Regions from separate parts of the Homo sapiens genome. Here region 2 is linked to region 1. Evidence: promoter capture Hi-C in 16 types of primary human blood cells and fetal thymus (Javierre and others, 2016). All regions are on one chromosome and are shown on one strand. Each heading gives the region's core, a stretch centred on a gene start or on the middle of the fragment in contact. The rest is flanking DNA. Distances are from core to core; before and after follow the strand shown.

What was found. The method cuts DNA at HindIII sites, captures the fragments that hold promoters and counts their contacts. A CHiCAGO score of 5 or more calls a contact.
Region 2: a contact is called between a fragment that was not itself captured here and the fragment with the promoter of OR51F1 in region 1, in 1 of 17 cell types (M0 macrophages). The highest score is 5.1, in M0 macrophages.

The regions. Positions count from the first base shown.
Region 1 is chr11:4,767,418-4,773,653 of GRCh38, forward strand. OR51F1 (olfactory receptor family 51 subfamily F member 1) reads right to left here and starts at 2,521. Exons shown (of 1, transcript NM_001004752.2): 1 at 1,562-2,521. The coding sequence starts at 2,521. The coding sequence ends at 1,562. All of the region lies in intron 2 of MMP26 (matrix metallopeptidase 26), which reads left to right. The HindIII fragment of the contact is 5,192 bases long and covers 865-6,056 here.
Region 2 is chr11:5,909,301-5,915,536 of GRCh38, forward strand. The region is part of intron 2 of LOC112268071 (a long non-coding RNA gene); the gene reads right to left. Among named protein-coding and RNA genes, the nearest start is that of OR52E5, 19 kb to the left of the region's middle. The HindIII fragment of the contact is 1,523 bases long and covers 2,121-3,643 here.

The sequences.
Region 1 (6,236 bases), core at 1,271-3,770:
TTTTACACACACAAGATTTTAACCTTCGTGAGTGCACAGTAATATTTTTTATTGATCTTTTATTTTTTGTTGTTTCCCACGAGGTCAAACATAAAATATACCTACAGTCACTGTGTGCTGATAAACTGAATATTTAAAAACAGAAAAAGTTCTCAATGCTATTAAATTAAATTGAACAATGCTATTATATAAATATTTAAAAGAATTTTTACCAGTTCACATGGTATAAAAATTATCATTATCAGTGATTTCAAGCTACTAATATGACATCATATAATGCATAGTTAGATATGCAAAAATAGGCTCTTGCAAGCTGGTGTGTGCTCTCTCCAGCACACTGCTGCCCTCAGTATTTGTGGGGTACCTGGTACATTTCTTCCACCTATCACTATTTTTCCAATGGCAATAAAATTGATGTGACTGCCTTTAGGTTTCCATCTCCATTTCCCTCTGATTTTATTCTGCCATTATATGCAATTGACATTTTTAAGCTTCTGTCTGTCTCTTAAATCCAAAGAGTTACCATAAGTTCGTTTTCAGAAACCAAACATTTTGTGTCTGTCTCTGTAAAACTGTGTATAGGCAAGAACTATGAATTCTTTACCTTGGTTCTTTAGCTGGTTAAGGAGTCACATAGGTCTTTAATGGCATTTGTGAAAACTGTGAAAACTATGGAAAATAATGTGAGTATGTTTATCTATGGGGAAAGGTCCATAAATTTCATTAGCTTTCTAAGGGACCACAATGCAGAAAAAGGTTCAGAACATCTGCCCCAAACTTCCTTGTAATTTACTTTACATTCTTTTCTAGTTCTCTCAAGTTCCCATTCCCTGTGATAAATTAGCAAGTGTGCCTCACCCCTAAAGCTTTTCTTTGGACTGTCCAACACTGGATAGTGACTCACATGCCATGACATATCTATTCCTACCTTTTGTATTATGAATTATCCATGAAGAAAACAGCTAGAGTATATTCTAAGAAGGTTACTACAACTTTTTAAGACAAAGGATGGAACCATGGAGATCCAGGTCTTACTTTTGATCTTAAAACATTTCTGCTACATGACTTTGGCAGAGTATGTAATACAGTGATGAAGAGCATAGCATTTGAGATACAGAACACCTGGGTTCAAATCTCAACTGTGCCTCATGTTATTCACATGGCCTTTGGGGGCCTAAATGTCTATAAATCTGTTCCATCATCTGTAATATATCGCTAATAGTAATATATATTTCATTTCGCTGTTTTGGAAGAATAAATGGAATATGTCTTAAAAGCAGTTAGTAGAACACCTAGCCTGAAACAAAGAGTCAATACATGTTAATTGCCAGGAGTATTATTTATCATTTCATTATTGTTATTTTCCTAATTCCACTACAAATGTCTTGGGTGATATATCATACTTATATTTTATGACCAAATATACAACATATTTACTATTTGTTTGGTGAATGAAAAATATTTTAAAAACCCACATGCAATAGGCAGTAAGAGAGCAAGTTCGCTTTTCTACAGTGCAAGTCATTCATGCCAGGTTTGTATCAAATAAAACTATGTCTGTTCATTTTGTAAGCAGCAGACTGAGCATAGCCTTGCGGATTTGTTTTGTTTTTACACTGTCGATGATGGGGTTGAGCACAGGGGGTAAAAGCAGGTATACATTAGCCATCACTGAATGGACTACTCTGGGGGCTGACCGACCATAGCGATACACCAAGGACAGGCTCAGCATGTGGATGTAGAAGAAAGCAACTGCTCCCACATGGGAGACACAGGTGCTGAAGACCTTGTGCCATTCTTCAGGGGAGGCAATTCTGAGGACAGAGTGAATAATTAAGATATATGACAGGACAATGCATGGTGTATCTATTCCAGTGGTCAGGATGAGATCAATTAATCCACAGATGCTATTTGCCCGAATGTCTGAACATGCTAATTGAATCACATCTGGATGGTAACAATAGGAGTGAGAAAGGGCATTCATTCTACAGAAATAGAGAGGCTTAAGGAGCAAAAGTAGTGGCAATATTAGTACTATAGCACGTGTAATCATCAGAAGACCCATTTGAATGATTCTGGAATTAGTGAGAATGGTAGTGTACCTCAGAGGGTCACAGATGGCCACATAACGGTCAAAGGCTGTAGCCACCAGCACTCCAGATTCCATAAAAGTGAATCCATGAAGAAAAAACATCTGGACAATGCAGCTATATAGACTGATTTCACGTGCCTCAAACCAGAGGATACCTAATGTTGTTGACAATGAAGAAACAGTCAAGCCCAGATCAGTGGCTGATAGCCTGAAGAGGAAATAATACATGGGTTCATGGAGACTCTGCTGGGTAATGATGACAAACAGGATCACGCTGTTCCCAGAGAGGGCAATGGCATAAAAACAACAGAAAGGAATGGAGATCCAGACATGGGCAGACTCTAGGCCAGGAATGCCGGTCAACAAGAAGGTTGGAAATTTAGATGTTGAGTTGCTTAGGATTTCCATGGTGTCCTGGTTTTGCAGCATTTGTCCTCACAATGCTTCCATCCTATAGAAGTGATACATTAAGTGTTATGTAAAATATTTAGATACATTTTCTTTTAGTTAGTAGAGTTATCCAAGGTCATAGATAAGATCTGCATCATTGAGAAACCTTTAAATTAAATTATAATGTTCATCTACCACTCATAATCAGAAATAGTTCACAAAAATATGTTTTTGTACCATAAAATTCAAGGGAAATATGTCCATATGATTTTATACATTTTCATGATAGTGTCCATTTACAGAATATATTAAGATGCATCATATTGTAAGATTATTTGAATAAAGACTTAGCTGAGAAAAAATAAGTATCCTCAATTTTGAATATTTTGTGAGTACAATGAATAATAGCCACTTAAAAATATCCATGGTTCTTCAGTGACCATAAGGGTATGAGTCTGCAGACACAGATCTCCAGATATTTGCCAGGAATATAAAGTTATCAATGTATATTTATCATTTTCATCCAACACTATAGGTAAACAACTTCAGAGACTAGAATTATAAGAGAAAAACAATGAGGACAGAACTCTCCAGAAGACTGGAATGCACTATATACACTAAAGCAAGATGAGACTGGTTTTATGGGGACTATGAAAACCAAAAGAGGCTGGGCAGGTGGCTCATGCCTGTAATCCCAGCACTTTGGAGGCAGAGGTGGGCGGATCACGAGGTCAAGAGATCAAGATCATCCTGGCCAACATGGTGAAACCCCGTCTCTACTAAAAATACAAAAATTAGCTGGGCATGGTGGCGTGTATCTGTAGTCCCAGCTACTTGGGAGGCTGAGGCAGGAGAATCGCTTGAACCCAGGAGGCAGAGGTTGCAGTGAGCCAAGATTGCACCACCGCACTCCAGCCTGGTGACAGTGAGAGACTCCGTCTAAAAAAGAAGAAAAAAAAAAAACATGGTGTGAAGACCGGATGTTACATGAGCAGCTGTGTCGAATTGCTTGCGCTGTGAAGCCTAGTAAGGATTAAAAAATTCAAATGCAGCTGAGAGCCATTAGCGATCCCAGAAAAAACAGTGGAAAATTGAGAACCTGCTACAGTGTGGTAATGATGAAAGTATTAGCAGTGGAGGTACGGTTTATTTTAAGAAACTTGGCAGTGAAGGCAAGGGGAGAAGTAGGCCATGTCTAAAGAAGGGGTATCAGGTAGATGGAGAATTTTTGCAAGATGGGACAGAATTCGAGAAATTGATATGTTTATAAACGGAGGTTAAAAATGTAGCAGATAATGAGAAATTTAAAATATAGAATGTGAAGGATTTATTGATCTATAAAAGTCCTTAAGAAAGTAGTGGGTGATTAAGTGTAGAGCATGAGTAACCTTCAAAAAAATGAGGACCATCATTTGCACTGACACTAGTAAGTGTCAAATATGTAAGTTTGTGGAGAGTTATATAAGGAAATTGTTACCTTTTTCTCTGTGAAGTATTTGGGGGTAATTTACTGCTGTTCAAAAGTGTAAAGTGATGGCTGCTGGCTTCCGGATACAGTAGACGTTTTCAGGAGACAGCGAATGAGAAGGGCAATTGGCTCAGTAAACAGAAATGCTATATCGCCTCTTTCAAGTAAAATTCCAAGAATAATTTTGTCAATTAATATATTTATATTGTTCAAATCAATTCTGGGGAGAATTAAATTAAATAATAGCAGTATTCATGAGTATAATGTTAGTATTTTTCAATCAAGTCTTTAAAAAATTAGATGTGTCAAATTCATGAGAGTAAATATTCTGTAGCAAGGATACAAGTTACTGTTCCCTTTATGCTAGTATTCTGTGGTTTATTTTAAATCTCCAGTTGTCTGATTTTCAATTCAATCTGAGAAACATTATGAAAATATTTAAGTATGAATTATTAGAGGTTGTATATCTACATGTTATGTGGATCGATGAGGACAGGGCAAACCCTCATGATATCTGACTTTTCTATAAACCCATATGACTATTTGTGAATAGGTAACAAAGTAAAAGTCAACACGATAAATATATCTATCTCCCTTCTTACCAGCTTTACGTGGAAAGAGGAACCTTCTCTGTCTTTGCTAGATGAGGAAGGATAGACTACAGTTCTGGAGCCATGGACTTTATAGTAAGGTAGAATTGAGCTGTGAGATTATTTGTATGATTTATGTCTCTCTGCAGCCAAAGACAGAGCAAAAAAGAAACCACCCTCTCTCCCTATCTATAAAAATTAGAGGGCAGGAGTGTGTAATCCCAGAGGGTTTTAGTTACTAATCCAAGTAACCTGTGGTCCACAGGGACATTAAATGCAGAGGAAAATAAACCAAATTATGCATATAAATAGAAAATTTACACACTGTTCATAGCATTGGGGAATAGAGAGATGTACATCATTGTCTCTGGATTATAAGTGTACTGGCAAGATAGGAAAAGAAACCACTGTTCACTGGGATCATTATGGTCACAATAAAGAGGGAAAACTTTACACCCAGTCTCTAGGCTCCTATGCCTACATTTCCACATTGAACCATAGGGAGAATGATAGATGTCCATTCTCAAATCCATTCTTTTTCAAACACTGAGTTTTCCCCCAGTAAATGTGTCAGCTCCTGATATATTAATTTGGCCCTGTTTTGCTAGTAGCTAGGGTTACCATGAATGAATGATGTTCTCATGTGCATGTATTCTTACTCTGTTCCCTGCTGTTTTCTTGCATTAATACTTTCAAGCACCTGATTATTGAGAGAGTTTTTTCATTTTTGTCAGTGTAGGCAGTTGACTAATGGATGCAGACACTTTACAGTCTACTAATTCTAGGTTCATAAGAAAAGTCTCACATTCAAGCCTTTTGTTTCTCCTTTATAGAGAAGCTGCACATTTGTGGAGACAGTCTTGTTTTTGTTTAGGTATCAATAATACCAGTAATTTGTTCCTCACTCAGCTATTTTTCTTTGATTTCTACTCTGCTATTACTCCTGTGCATTCCTGTTCAAGTAATTTTAATGGCTGAAAGTGTGATGGGTTCAATTGAAGCACTATATCTCTACCCGGCATTCCCATCAACTGTTTTGACTAATACTTCCACGACAAAAATGAACTATAATCAAATCATTTTATAAGTCAGAAATAAATAATTAAAAGTTTCGCCTCTGTTGTCTTAAAGAGCTAACTATCTAGAGTTTTCACCCAAATATCTGTGACGGTCAGATTGTAAAATAATAAAATAGTCCCTCAGTACTCCTACCTTCTTGGACTCAGCCCATGTTTATCCTCTGCTGTTGAGTGTGGGTAGGACCTCTGACTAACTTCTAACCAATAGAATATGGCAAAGTTGACAGGATATCATCACATATATGTCATATAAGATCTGTCTTTGGTGAATCAAGGTTCCATGTTTGGCAAACCTATGTGGCAAAAGACTAAGAGTGGACTCCAGCTAACAACCAGCCAAGAACTGAACATGGCCTCCTAGCCAACATGTAGCAAGAAACTGAGTCCCTCAACTCAACAGGCCACAAGGAACTAATAGAATCTAGCAACACTTCATAAGCTTGGAAGGATAGCCTTCCACAATAAGGCTTCAAATGAGACACAGCCTTTGGAGAAAACTCAGCAAAGCTGTATTCAGACTCCTGACTTACAGGAATTCAGAGGTGTAGTGTTTGTGGGGTTTTTTTTTTTTTTTTTGCTAATTGGTTTTGAATTTTTATTTTTATTTTTAGTTCTGG
Region 2 (6,236 bases), core at 1,632-4,131, 1.1 Mb after region 1:
ACCACTCCCAGCCTTGCCTCACAGCTCTTAAGATTCTTTCCTTTGTCTTGACTTTAGAGAACCTGATGACTGTGTGCCTAGGTGAAGATCTGTTTGCGATGAGTTTTCCAGGTGTTCTTTGAACTTCTTGTATTTAGATGTCTAGCTCTCTGGCAAGGCTGGGGAAGTTTTCCTTGATTATTCCCTCAAATATGTTTTCCAAACTTTGAGATTTCTCTTCTTCCTCAGGAACATCAATCATCCTTAGGTTTGGATGCTTAACATAGTCCCAAACTTCTTGGAGACTTTGTTCATTTTTTTAATCATTTTTTCTTTGTCTTTGATGGATTAGATTAATTTGAAAACCTTGTCTTTGAGCTCTGGAGTTATTTCTTCTGCTTGTTCAATTCTATTGCAAGACTTTCCAGTGCATTTTGTATTTCTCTAAGTGTGTCCTTCATTTCCAGAAGTTGTGTTTGTTTTTTTATTTATGCTGTCTATTTCACTGAAGATTTTTCCTTTCATATCCTGTATTATGTTTTTGATTTCTTTAAGTTGGATTTCACCTTTTTCTGGTGCCTCTTTGATCAGCTTAATAATTGATCTTCTGAATTCTTTTTCTGGTAATTCAGAGATTTCATCTTGGTTTGGATCCATTGCTGGTGAGCTGGTTTGATCCTTTGGAGGTGTTAAAGAACCTTGTTTTGTAATATTACCAGAATTGTTTCTCTGTTCCTTCTCATTTGGGTAGACTATGTCAGAGGGAAGATCTGGGACTTAAGGGCTGCTGTTCACATTCTTTTGTCCCATAGGGGTGCTCCCTTAATTTGGTGTTCTCCCCTTTCCCCTAGGGATGAGGCTTCCTGAGACCTGAACTGCAATGACTGATTTTGCTCTTCTGGGTCTAGCCACCCAGTGTAGCTACAGGGCTCTGGGCTAATACTGGAAAGTGTCTGCAAAGAGTGCTGTGATGTGATCTGTCTTCAGGTCTTTCAGCCACAGATACCAGCACCTGCTCCGGTGGAGGTAGCAGGGGAGTTAAGTGGAGTCTGTGAGGGTCCTTAGTTGTATTTTTGTTTAGTGCACTGGTTTTGTGTTGGTTGGCCTGCAGCCAGGAGGTGGCATGTTCAAGAGCACATCAACTACAGTACTAGAAGGAGGATGTATACTTGCCCTGGGGTTGTCTGGTTACGTATTCAGGTTTCTCAGGTGGTGGGCAGCGCCATAGAGCTCTCAGGATATTATGTCCTTTGTCTTTGGCAACCAGAACGGGTAGAGAAAGACCACCAGGTGGGGGCAGACATAGGTATGTCTGAGCTCAGACTCTCCTTGGGTGGAGCTTGCTGCAGCTGCTGTGGGGAATAGGGGTGTGATTCCCAGTCCAATGGAGTTATGTTCCCTGGTGGATTGTGGCTGCCTCTGCTGAGTCATACAGGTCACCAGAGAAGTGGGACAAAGACAGCAGTCACAGGCCTCACCCCATTCCCATGTAGCCACAGTCCTAAATGCTGGTCTCACTTCCATCATGCCCCACCTACCACACCAAGTGTTTCCAGGCAGCTGGTGACCAGTTCTGAGAACTTGCCCCAGACCGTCAGCCACCCCACTGAGAAAGCAAGCTGATTCAGAGTTTTTTGGCATCTCAAGGAGCCTGCAGAAGCAATCCAGTTCCTTCAAAGGGTCTGTGGATTATCTCAGCTTACCTGGCATGTTCCTGCAGTAATTCTTGGAGAAAAGTTAATGATGTGAGTCTCTACATGCTGCCCTGTCTCTGACTAGCCTCCTATTTGCCATCTTAATCTCAGTCTTGATTCTGTGTTTGTATTTTTATCTTTCTTGACTGAATAGTGTATAAAGAAATGTATCACACTATGATTTTTTTTCAAAGTAGCACATTTTTGGTTTTGTTTTTTTTCCTTTTTCTGTTCATTTTCTATCTTATTGAGTTCGGCTCATTTCTATTATTTTCTTCCTTCTATTTTTTGAATATGCTTTTCCCATCTTTTTCTAGATTTGTAAGGCAGAAGCTTATAGAATTGATTTCAGACTCTCATTTTTTTCCTAATAAAAATAATTAATATGCTTAATGCTCCATTCACAGCAATCTGGGCTTTTTCTACCTTGCTTCTCCAAATTCTTCAAGCTTCTATCTATTACCCAGTTCAAAAACCACTTCCATATTTTCAGGTATTTGTTGTAGCAACAACTCTACTCCCAATATCAATCTTCCTGGTACTGTTTTGTGCTACTATAACAGGATATCAGAGACTGGGTAATTTATAAACTATAGAACTTTATTTGGCTCACAGCTCTGGAGGCTAGAAAGTCCAAGGTCAAGTGACCTGCTTCTGGTGAAGGCCTTGTCACTGGGTCATCTCATGGCAGAAGGCAGAAGGGCAAGAGTGTATGTGCATGAGAAAGAGAGAAGAGAGAGAATTAGAAATGGAGAGTTGAATCTGCTTTTATAACAAACCCACTCCCACGATAGCAGCACTAATTCATTCATGAGGGCAGGGCCCATGTGACATAATCGCCTCTTAAAGGTCCTACCTCCCAATACTGTTGCATTGGGGTTTAAGTTTCCAACACATGAATCTTGAGGGACATTCAAACCATAGCAGCCATATTATACTGCCATCATTCTACTTTAAGTTATTGTGCCCTTCTTTATACAATTAATTCCCCAAAAGCAGAGATGAATAACATTTGATCTTTTCTCACAAGACCAAACAGTGATTGTCACTTAATCTGACTGAGCAGATTATTCTGTTATGTAAAACTTTTTAAAACTAGTTTGATGCACTAATACTTTCCACAAACCTTCTTACATGATTTCCCACATATTTAAATGACTTGTTTATGAAATTTTTCCTCTTTGGTCAGTTGCTTGACGATCTGATCAGTGCCTTGTTATTGCTTAGCAACGACTGTTGTATTGAGGTTTCCAAGTTTCTCCAGAACTGTTTTGCCAGGTCCCAAGCTGGCAGAACTGAATGCCTTTAGCGTCCTATTTCTCCTGACTATGCGGCCAATGTCATCCTCCATTATTTTGTTTCCAAATAAGCAGCCAGATCCTTAGTAGCTCATTGACTTTCAGAATTCATTGAGAACAGAAAGACAAGGTATCTTCTGGTATTTTGAGAAAATATATGTCCTTTGAAAAGTTAGCTTTAGGAGATACACCTAATGCTAAATGACGAGTTAATGGGTGCAGCACACCAGCATGGCACATGTATACATATGTAACTAACCTGCACATTGTGCACATGTACCCTAAAACTTAAAGTATAATAATAATAAAATAAAATAAAAAATAAAAAAAGAGAAAAGTTAATGCTAAACAGAGAATAGAAGTAAGAAAATGCAGTGTCTTTGAATTGGAAAAAGAAAGATTGTACTTCCTCTCCACCAACAAAAAGACAGAAGAAAGAGGAGAACAAATGAATTTTCTGACTTGAAGTTATAATCCTACGAGGGAAAAAATGCTGCTCAGTAACTGCAGGAGTTCTTGACCACTGGAACCTCCCAGGTGTCAGCTTTTTCACAAAATATTGGAATATTTGAATAAATCTGGGATTATCTAAGGGAGGGCAGTTGGGAAGACCAGTTGGGTCAGAGAAGCAATCATAACACATATTTAATATACCTTTATACTGATGGATGAAGCTTCAAATTGACAGTTGAGCAGATTGTCATTAAATAACGAAAAGTACCTAAGTTTTTATCCAAAGCTTAATTGTTCCTCTCTTTGCTCCTAAAACTCAACATGCTTTCTCTCTTAGTACAGAACCTCTGCATGTGTGTAGTTTTCACTGCCTAAAATAATCTTTTCATCCTTCTTTGCTTAGGTGATTCCTATTTTTCTTTCTTGTTCAACCTACTTAGGTTTACTTAAAATGACCTTACCCAACCTTCAATATTATGTTAGGCTGTCAGGCTCCACTGTAACAGGCTTCTACTGTAGCACCCAGAAAGTTTCTTTCTTTGAAATAACTGACCACAACTGTATTGAAGTGAGGCTCAATGCCTACTTTTCCATTATACATTATACTTCCTATTAATGGGGACAGATAATATTTACAAAGTACCATATATCAGGCACTATGATTAGTATTATTCATGTTACATCATTTAATAAATGCAATTAACATGAGATACATGCTAAGTTTATGACTATTTTCCGGAGGAGGAAATAGATGCACAAAGACATAAAAACAACTTGATAAAGGCTTCACACACAGCAAGTAGTGAAACCAAAATTTGAACCCAGGAAGTATAATTCCAGCATCAAGGTGTTAACTACCACTTCACCTTCATTTATGAAAGTACAAAACAATGTAGTTCATCTTTGTAAATAAGAAAAGCTCAATATTTATTACATGAAATATCCACCATACCTCTTTAACTGCTATTTCAATCAGAATTCTTACTTTCAAGCAACAAAAAATAATTCTAGATATTTTAAGCAAAGAAAAATTATTGAAAAGATGATGGATACCTCACAGAATCACTAGGAAAACAGAAAAGTAATAAAATAAAAGAAAATAAAAATACAAACCAAGTAACAACCAGGACCTCTGTAAAATTAATCCAGAGAACTAATTCTGTGCTGAAGTGTTATTGCAACCACTGCTGAACTTCAGATGACATGGTTTATATAAATAGTTCTTTTGTGTTTATTTCAGATGGTTTTCGAACATTGATCAAGTAACTATATATAATAGTGACCACTGTGGAAAATCATTTTGATTTAAAATTTTAGTAGTTAATACATATGATTCAGTTATAATTTTAGAAATTTTTGAGGATTTATGTCTCGAGAAACTTCTCTGAAGTTCAATTTACAGTTAAAAGCATCATAAAAGCGATTTTAAGTGAATGTTTTATAGTGTATTTTAATATAGTAGACATTATAATATGTTTTAACAGAATAAGTAATGAAAATAATGTTTTTCTAACTAACACACTCAATCCTTTTTGTTTGTTTGATAGCCCTCTTTTTACACTAGCATGTACTAGGAAACCATAGGTAGACAGTAAATGCAAACAAGAAAATAATTTTTCTACTAATGTACATACTGATATCAAAAGGACACAAGTCCTAACTTTTTTACATTTATAATATTGTCTTTCACAAGATTGTGGGCATAGCTCAACTAATGTTTACTGATTTATATTAATGATAGCAAAATGTTAGAATACGGTAACTTTTTGAAGATGGCCGAATAGGAACAGCTCCAGTCTACAGCTCCCAGCGTGACCAATGCAGAAGATGGGTGATTTCTGCATTTCCAACTGAGGTACCGGGTTCATCTCATTGGGGAGTGTCAGAAAGTGGGTGCAGGACAGTGGGTGCAGCGCACCGAGCGTGAGCCAAAGCAGGGCAAGGCACTGCCTCACCCAGGAAGCGCAAGGGGTCAGGGAATTCCCTTTCCTAGTCAAAGAAAGGGGTGACAGACAGCACCTGGAAAATCGGGTCACTTCCACCCTAATACTGTGCTTTTCCAATGGTCTTAGCAAATGGCACACCAGGAGATTATATCCCGCGCTTGGCTTGGAGGGTCCTACACCCACGGAGCCTCGCTCATTGCTAGCACAGCTGTCTGAGATCAAACTGCAAGGCGGCAGTGAGGCTGGGGGAGGGGTGCCCGCCACTGCCAAGGCTTGAGTAGGTAAACAAAGTGGCGTGGAAGCTCAAACTGGGTGGAGCCCACCGCAGCTCAAGGAGGCCTGCCTGACTCCACCTCTGAGGGCAGGGCATAGCCAAACAAAAGGAAGGAGAAACCTCTGCAGACTTAAATGTTCCTGTCTGACAGCTTTGAAGAGAGCAGTGGTTCTCCCAGCACGCAGCTGGAGATCTGAGAACGGGTAGACTGCCTCCTCAAGTGGGTCCCTGACCCCTGAACCCCGAGCAGCCTAACTGGGAGGCACCCCCCAGCAGGGGCATACTGACACCTCACACAGCAGGGTATTCCAACAGACTTGCAGCTGAGGGTCCTGTCTGTTAGAAGGAAAACTAACAAACAGAAAGGACATCCACACCAAAAACCCACCTGTACATCACCATCATCAAAGACCAAAAGTAGATAAAACCACAAAGATGGGGAAAAAACAGAACAGAAAAACTGGAAACTCTAAAAAGCAGAGCACCTGTCCTCCTCCAAAGGAACGCAGTTCCTCACCAGCAACGGAACAAAGCTGGATGGAGAATGACTTTGACGAGCTGAGAGAAGAAGGCTTCAGACGATCAAATTACT